Linked DNA regions of Homo sapiens: all the other regions are linked to region 3. Evidence: promoter capture Hi-C in human tissues and cell types (Jung and others, 2019). All regions are on one chromosome and are shown on one strand. Each heading gives the region's core, a stretch centred on a gene start or on the middle of the fragment in contact. The rest is flanking DNA. Distances are from core to core; before and after follow the strand shown.

Region 1 (2,743 bases), core at 25-2,524, 420 kb after region 3:
ATTCACAATGAAGAGTCGGTTTTTCACACATATAATACAACCTGAAACTATAGCTTCAATCTATGCAGATGGTTTTACTATTTTAATTATACAACTAATTAATACCAAAATTAGATCGATGTTGTTTAATTTGTGGCTACTGAGGAATGTTACTATTCACAAATCACAAAATCTGTGCCAAAATAAGTCTTCAAAGGGATATTGTTGCCTCCTTACCCTTCTAAGCTTTGCAGTGGGCTTTGGTCAAAGCTGACATAAACAGCTAAAGAAATTAACAACAGAGTCTCAGAAGACAAGGCCAGGGGAGCCAAAAGGACACAGGTGCTACACACCCAGGCAGTTGTTGTCTGCTCCCAGAGCACCTGACTTCAGCAGCCACAGCACCTGCTCCTCAAGCGCAGCGGCGCCTTTGAGGGAGCACAGCCTGGAAGGTTTACCCTTCGCAGAGACGCTTGCTCTTGGACTTCTGGCTGTACATTCTGAGGGTTCAAATGAAGGATGGGACAATGGGAAAGCTTAAATCCTCTGGAAACGTCACTGTGATCAATGGCTTCAACCCTCCTCTACCTCATACCAGTTCACTGGAGCTGCTAACACTAAGTTTCCTTCTTTATCCGCCCATCTCTATTCCAGTGGAGCCCCGTGATTAAGGGATGGCAGAGGAAGGGGACATGTCCTTTTTTTTTTTTTTTTAACAGAAAAACACTCATTTAGATACCTGGTTTAGTAAGACATCTGAACAACATGAAACCCAACTATGTAAAAGCTTTAAAAATCCAGGTTATGAATTAGCCTAAACCTGTGCTTATGTTCCATTCTGTTTAGAGGAAGGGGGATGGAATCCCTTTCACCTTTATATTTTTCATGACAAGTCCATGGTCACATCAAAAATTACTTTTGTCTTTAACACAGTTGAAATTATTAAATGTTATCTAGACCTAACCAAATCCTATTTCCTTAATGTTATATTCAGGACAGTGAAAAAAATACTGTTTTCTTTTAGCAAAGTCTGACTTTTAAGGCTCAGTTTTTACCTGATTAAATAAACTGCCCCTGCTTTTGAGGTTAGAAAAATTACTTTTGTTCATGGGGTCCATTATACTGTACTATTAAGTTTACTTTTATATGTTTGGAAATTTCCAGCCGGGCGCGGTGGCTCATGCCTATAATCCCAGCTACTCGAGAGGCAGAGGCAGGCAGATTACCTGAAGTCAGGAGTTCAAGACCAGCCTGGCCAACATGGCGAAACCCCATCTCTAGTAAAAACTACAAAAATTAGCCGGGCATGGTGGCACGCACCTGTAATCCCAGATACTCGGGAGGCTGAGGTGGGAGAATTGCTTGAACCTGGAAAGTGGAGGTTGCAGTGAGCCGAGACGGTGGCACCACACTCCGGCCTGGGGGACAGAGCAAAACTCCATCTCAAAAAAATAAAAAAAGAAAAAAGAAAATTTCCATAATAAAATGAAACTCTTAAGGAAAAAACTGCTTTGAACATAAAGCCAACCCAAAAAGTAGCTCTTACCTAAAGTGAATTTTCCCTAGTGCCAAATGAAATTCAAATAAATCCCAATCTTCTAATTCACACAAATCTTAAGATTTCTAATACTTTAAACCAGAATGAAAAAGTCAGGTATGCCAAATTAACAATCGAAGAGAAAATTAATCCCACACCAAAGCCAAAACATTGAACTTCCTCCCACTCTCGCATTCACACACACACACAAGCATGAACCACACAATGAAGGATTCCAGTTGCCCCATCCAGACAACTGGACGCACATCACACACCTCCTAGTCATCCAGGGACCATCTTGGCAGCCTGTTTCTCATCACTACCTGCCACCCTGTGCCTGTGTTGTGGACGAGGAAGGCACGGGTAGTAGCCTAGCTTTTTATTTTTTTAAATCTCAGCAATAGAGGCAAGGTTATTTCTACCTTACATCCAAGAGTATGGAGCACAAGACTAGCTGTTTATTAATAACATGCTTATTTTCCACACCAACCACACGGTTTTCCAATTTCACAAAGTAAATACTTCCTCATCCCTCTTTAGAAAAGATGAAACAATTTATCGTAGCCTAAGCAAAAACCACCTATCAAAGCAAAGACTGGCAAGCAGATTCAAGACATAAAGGTATAGCTTTTACTATAAATTTGAAACCAACAAGAAAGCCATTAACCTAAATATTTTTCTAATCAAAAATCAGAAATGACGTTAATAGCAACATATAAGAATTACTGTATCTACCACACTTAGAATGTACTGGGGTAGATGACAATGACAATCAGTACTGATTGCCTTATGTTTATCAACTTTTTCATCTACATTTCAGGTTTCAGTGCAAGACAAACCATTAATACATTCATGACTAGCCATTTCAAAGCATTATTGTATACATACTGTACGACACAAAGTGCTTAATTGTAACTTAAAAGGTTAAAACCCATCTTGAATCCTAAATGGGCAAAAAAAAAAAAAAAAAAAAAACCCCACTAGTCATTTGCCCACAAACCAGGCCCCATATAACCATCAAGCATCTGACTGCATCGGACATGATTAATCTGAAACTGTGCTATGAATCATACAGCAGTCCTCCCTTATCTTCAAGGGATACGTTCTGAAATTCCCCAGTGGGTGCCTGAAACTGCAGGTAGTACCAGATCTAAATACATTGCTTTTTCCTATACACACATACCTATGGTAAAGTTTAAATTATAAATTAGGCACAGTAAAAGATGA
Region 2 (2,700 bases), core at 37-2,536, 390 kb after region 3:
GTGTTAGCAGCCTTGGGCCATGGCTTAACTGGACAGCTTCCGGGGGCGAAGGACTGGGTTTCCTGCCCTTCAGCCACCTCTTGGCCACACAATGGTGCCTTTCTTCCTCTCTGCTTCTGATTCTAACAGGAAAACCTCCTCCTTTCTCACTGAACCTTAATGTGTATCCTTAATGTTTGCTGTGGTTGGCTTGGTAAGCTAAAAGAGGGTTCAGAACCAGAAAAGAAACCATTCCCTTCCTGACCACTTTTTACAATCTGTATCTCACCCCCAACATATGCAAACATACAACACACACACACTCACACCCAAACACCAATCACCCTCCTCTGCTTTGGTTTTCTACTTAACATACAACATATTTTAAAATTTATCTTGTCCCCCATAAGAATGTGAGCTCCATTAGGGCAAGGCTGTTGCCTACTTCCTTTAATGCTGTACCCCCAGTGGCTAGAATGGTGTGTTGGGAACACAGAGGATGCATAATAAATATCTGAATTTAAAAAATAATAATAATAAGTTGAGACAATATAGAGTTTTCTGAACTTGGCTGTGCTCCAGGAGGCATGGAGATGGATTTCAAGCCCTTCTCTTTATTTTGCATTAGCCCCCTCCTCCTTTCTGAGAGGAACCCAAAATACTGTAAGTTAACCAGTTTCACTGCACTAACCTGTTCCTAAGAAAAGCTCAGTCATTCCTTTCCACCAATTGAGCAGCACTGCCAAAAAGATTAGCTTTCCCCCCAAAATGTTCTGTTACTCTCATTCCTCATAAAGCTTTTAAAAACATGTTCCATACTATAATGCACAAGTTTATTCAAAATCTTGTGCAATAATATTTGTAGTAGAAAAACACTAGGGAAAAAAGCCTAAATGACCATCCAAAGGAGACTGGTTGAATACATTTTTATACTCACTCCCATGGATGAGTACCATGAGACCATAAAAAAGAATGAGAAAACATTTGTTATAGTCCAAAACTAGAAAGAACTCAGAAGAGATTAAATATTTGTAGCCTATTCCGATTTTGGAATACTATACAGCAACAGGAATAAATAAACTAGAACTGCATGCACCCACGTGAATGAATCTCTCACACTTTATGTGACACAAAGAAGCCAGACACAAAAGAACACATGTGGTATGATTCCATGTAGATAAAATACAAAAACAGGCACAGCTAATCTACAACATAAAAGTCAGGAGAATGGCTACCCTGGAGTGCAGGAGAGTTGAAGGTGGCTTCTGGTCATCTTATTTCTTAACCTGGATGCTGGTTATTCAGATATATTCATTTTCTAAACATTCACCAAGCTTTTTGCTTACATGTACACATTTTAATGTTATATGTCAACAAAATTTACCTTCCCCAAAAATAAGGTGAGCAAAACCCATGAATTGACTTCCAAGACATATTATGCTACTTAATAAAGGGAAATTGATATGCACTCACATATTTTTACAAAAAAAAAAACATAGGAAGAGTAAACCAGAAACTAATAAAAATGAAGGGGTAGGACTGAGGCCTGAGTACACCTTTTATATTTTGGACATTTACGTATTAAAAAAATTATCTAGCTGGGCATGGTGGCACACACCTATGGTCCCAGCTGCTTGGGAGGCTGAAGTAGGAGGCTGGCTTGAGCCCAGGAGTTTAAGTCCAGCCAGAGCAACATAGTGAGAATTCATCTCAAGAAAAAAAAAAAAAAAATATATACATATATATATATATATATATATATATATATGAAAAATGGGCAAACCCTAAAACTAAATACAAACACAAACAAATAATTCTAATAATACATTGTACTGAAAACACAACCAACGGAAAAGTACTCCGATACATTCTTTGAGAGATATACTGTAAGGACAAAAAGAACCGTAAAGAATCTGGAACTCTGTTTAGCAGGTCTGTTGATTACAGTCATATTTGGGTCATAATCATGACATGGAAATCAATGGATGCTAAAACCCTCAGGTGAAAGGGTTGTTGAAGAGGATAGTCAAAACACATATTCAATGCACCACCCCACAAATTACATGTTGATCACAACTGACATTTGTAATTTTGCTGCATAAGAGGAAGATCTAGCAGGTCATCCCTTTACCAAATGTCTCAACTCAGCAACCCCAATATTAGAACAACCTACAGTTCCAGGCTCCTAATGCAATGTAAGATATTTACTTCCTATATAATATTCTTGCTAATCTACTGAAGAGAAAACAAGAAGATAAATCTAGAATATCCCTTAAGAGTTGGGATCTCACTCTGTCACCCAGGTTGGAGTGCAGTGGCATGAACATGGCTCACTGAAGCCTCCAACTCCTGGGCTCAAGTGATCCTCCCAACTCAGCCTCAGGAGGAGCTGGGACCACAGCGGAATGCCCCCACACACAGAGCTAACATTTATATTTTTTTAGAGATGAGGTCTCCAAATACACACACACACACACACACACACACACACACACACACACACACACACACTTTAGATTCTTCAGGCTGAAAGAACATAGGATATTCTACAAAATAACTGATCTGGACCAAAAAAAAGCAGGGGCTATTCTAGATTAGAGACATAACTAAACGCAATACATGAACTTTGACTAAATTCTGAATAGAAAAATCAGAGTGCTAAAATAGATATTTTTGAGACAAGTGAGAAAAATTAAACATGGAATGTATATCAGATATTAC
Region 3 (2,700 bases), core at 98-2,597:
TTGAGACTGTCTTCACTGAGTTCTAAAATATTCATAATTGGAAACTGTGACTACATTTGGCATTATATGAGGGGCAGCTTTTTTCCTCATCTGAAAAAGGAGTCTCTTTTCTTCCCCCTGGGAATATCTCTGGTGAGTCCCCTCCCTCATCTTATCAAACCCAGCCCTCCTGGCGCAGGCTCAGTATTTAGAGTTTGTTTGTTTATTTTCAATTCTCCGAGGGGAAAATTCCTTCTTCCCCTTGTTGAAAAATGCTAAAATAGAAACTCCAGAAAATTTAAAAGAAACGGAAGAAAAGAAAAAAAGATGTTAAAAAAAAGGCAAGGGAAGGAAGGGAGGAGTAGACATGAACAGGAAATGCTGGGATCGAAAACAGACTGAAGTGTTTTTTTTTGGTGGGGGGAATCAAGGCCTAAAGGGCACGAAGAAGAAAATCAGTGATGATCAAGCTGGCCTGGAGTCAGAATGAGAGGGGCTAGTCATCACCAGAGTGGGACGCAGGAGGCTGAGGTCGGAGGCAGAGCTGGGTTTGGGGGAAGTCTCCAGGGTCCTGGGGAATCCCTGACCCAGGGAGCCCACGGTCCCTAATGGAAATGTTATGGGGTCAGGGAGCGCCAAGGCTGTGAGGTGGCGGGGTTATGGGGGCCTTGGGGAGAGGGTGGTAGCGAGCACCAGGGGGTGCTTGCTGAGGACGGAGGCGGCGGGGTGGGGGCAGGGAGCAGGCTGAAGGGGGTGCCGAGGTGCTCTGTAGAAGAGGGGGATTGATAAGGTGACAGGAGGTGAGGCCGGAGGAATGAGGGGGGTGCGAGTGGCAGAAGGGAGGGCACAGACAGGGGTAGGGGCAGAGGAGATCGAAGTGCTGAGGGCAGAAGCGGTGACGGTGTCGGGGGTGCTGGGGAGAGCGACGGGCCAGCTGAGGGGATGGGGACACTAAAGAGAGTACAGGGGAGCCGAAGGGGCGACGGGGCGCTGAGATGGGCCAGGGGCTGAGTGGGTGACGGGGCGCTGAGTAGGCGATGGAGGTCTGGGGTCTGAGGGGGAGACGGGGCGCTGAGAGGCGCTCTGAGTGGGTGCTGATGCCGCTGGGGGCCAAAGAGGTGACAAGGCTCTGAGTGGGTGATGGGGGTCTGGGGATTGAGGGGGCGACGGGGCGCTGAGGGGCCAGGGGCTCTGAGCGGGTGACGGGTGCGTTGGGGGCTTGAGAGGGTGACAGGTCTTACGGGCAGAGGCAGTGGCGGGTCGGCGCGGGCGCCGGGGTTCGCGGCGAGGCAAGGAAGAATCAGGGGCAGGGGCAGTTGCGGGGCCACTCACCCGGCTCCGGCGCGTCCTTTCACTGCCGCCGGCGAGTGCTGGGGCTTCGGCCCAGGCAGGTCGGTGGCCCCGCCCGGCGCCGCGCACTTTCGGTTTCCGTTCCCCGCAGACCCTGGGCGGAGCCGGGCGGGCGGCCCAGAGGAGGAGAAGGAGGAGGCGGGGGCCCAGGGTGGAGAGCACGAGGGCCTGGCCCAGGCACGGCCGGCGCCTCCGCCCTCGAGGAGGGCGTCACCTCAGCTCCCCCCGGCGGCGGAGCCGGCGGGCTCAGGCGGGCGCGGCTGAGGGGAGCGGACCGCGGGGGGCGGGAGATGACTGCGCCCAAGGCCTTTGCGGGCCTCAGCCGGCCCCAGAGGAAGGGGAACCCGTCGAGCGGTTTGGTGCGTGTGAAGCGCGACATGGCGAGGAAGCGGACAAGCCCGGGTGGCCCGGCGTGTAGAGGGAAGGGGGCGGGGCTAGACGCGGCCTGGACAACTACTAGAGCGCCTCGGGCTGTGCTGCTCGAGACTACATTTCCCAGAGCGACGCGCGCGGAGCGGGCGGGAAAGAGAGCGTTTCGGGTCCAGTGCGCAGGTGCGAAAGCCATCTTTGGTTATATAAGGGAGGTTCAGGAAGCCATTCGTTCTTTCGCGTCTGCGGTGCCCGGAGTGTGGTACTTCTCCTAGTTGCAGTCAGGCTTCATACGCTATTGTCCTGCCCGTAAGTTCCCGTTTTGTGTGTGGTGAGTGGAAACTCCATGTTCTTCGTTGGAGACCTCTGGTCCTCCCTTCCCTTCTTTGTGCCGTCGTCTCTGCGGCCAGCCCTAATCTCCTTCTCGTGGCTTCTCCGTCTCTGACCCCAAATAGGCCTTAAGGGCGTGGGAGAAATGAGTTTCTGGAGCTGGAAAAGCCACTGCCTTCTGCACGGGCCTGAGAAGCCCTTGGCTGGTGTAAATGATGACTTCACTTTTTTCCCCATCAGATCGACAATGCTGACGTCTTATATTTTGCCAGTTAGTTCTGATACATCGGCCTCAAAAGGCCCGGCCTTGTTCGTTTCTGACCGTGGGAAGATGGCGGTTAACGCCCTTTATTTGTTGGTTCACAGGTTAGAGCAGCCAGCGGGTACAGAATGGATTTTGGAAGAGGGAGTCACCACTGGACCTCCAAGGAAGCCACGTGCAGACATCTACAACCTTCGATCTCCTGACGAGTAAGTCTTTGTCTCCTATGGGTCTACTGTAGAAAACACGTGCTTTGAGAAGCTTTAGTTTTCTAGGAAAACGTGGGATTTAACAAAGCACTTTCTATCGAGCATTTATTAGGTATTTAAAAAAGTGTTCTGACGGCCGGGCGCTGTGGCTGACGCCTGTAACCCCAGCACTTGGGGAGGCCAAGGCAGATGGGTCACCTG

What was found. The method cuts DNA at HindIII sites, captures the fragments that hold promoters and counts their contacts. A contact is called where the count stands out against the background at its distance.
Region 1: a fragment that was not itself captured here is called in contact with the fragment with the promoter of ZNFX1 in region 3 in 2 of the 25 tissues and cell types used here (aorta and dorsolateral prefrontal cortex).
Region 2: a fragment that was not itself captured here is called in contact with the fragment with the promoter of ZNFX1 in region 3 in 1 of the 25 tissues and cell types used here (hippocampus).

The regions. Positions count from the first base shown.
Region 1 is chr20:49,696,899-49,699,641 of GRCh38, forward strand. The region is part of intron 1 of B4GALT5 (beta-1,4-galactosyltransferase 5); the gene reads right to left. Among named protein-coding and RNA genes, the nearest start is that of B4GALT5, 16 kb to the right of the region's middle. The HindIII fragment of the contact is 5,555 bases long and covers 1-2,743 here.
Region 2 is chr20:49,661,982-49,664,681 of GRCh38, forward strand. The region is part of intron 1 of B4GALT5 (beta-1,4-galactosyltransferase 5); the gene reads right to left. Among named protein-coding and RNA genes, the nearest start is that of B4GALT5, 51 kb to the right of the region's middle. RefSeq lists an enhancer at 1-245. The HindIII fragment of the contact is 3,209 bases long and covers 1-2,700 here.
Region 3 is chr20:49,276,710-49,279,409 of GRCh38, forward strand. ZNFX1 (zinc finger NFX1-type containing 1) reads right to left here and starts at 1,348. Exons shown (of 14, transcript NM_021035.3): 1 at 1,312-1,348. It overlaps ZFAS1 (ZNFX1 antisense RNA 1), which reads left to right and starts at 1,469. Exons shown (of 4, transcript NR_036658.2): 1 at 1,469-2,007; 2 at 2,395-2,499. It overlaps SNORD12C (small nucleolar RNA, C/D box 12C), which reads left to right and starts at 2,236; the gene lies at 2,236-2,314. RefSeq lists enhancers at 523-582, 924-1,424, 1,425-1,925, 1,683-1,977, 1,853-2,052 and silencers at 1,123-1,352, 1,403-1,762. The HindIII fragment of the contact is 7,798 bases long and covers 1-2,700 here.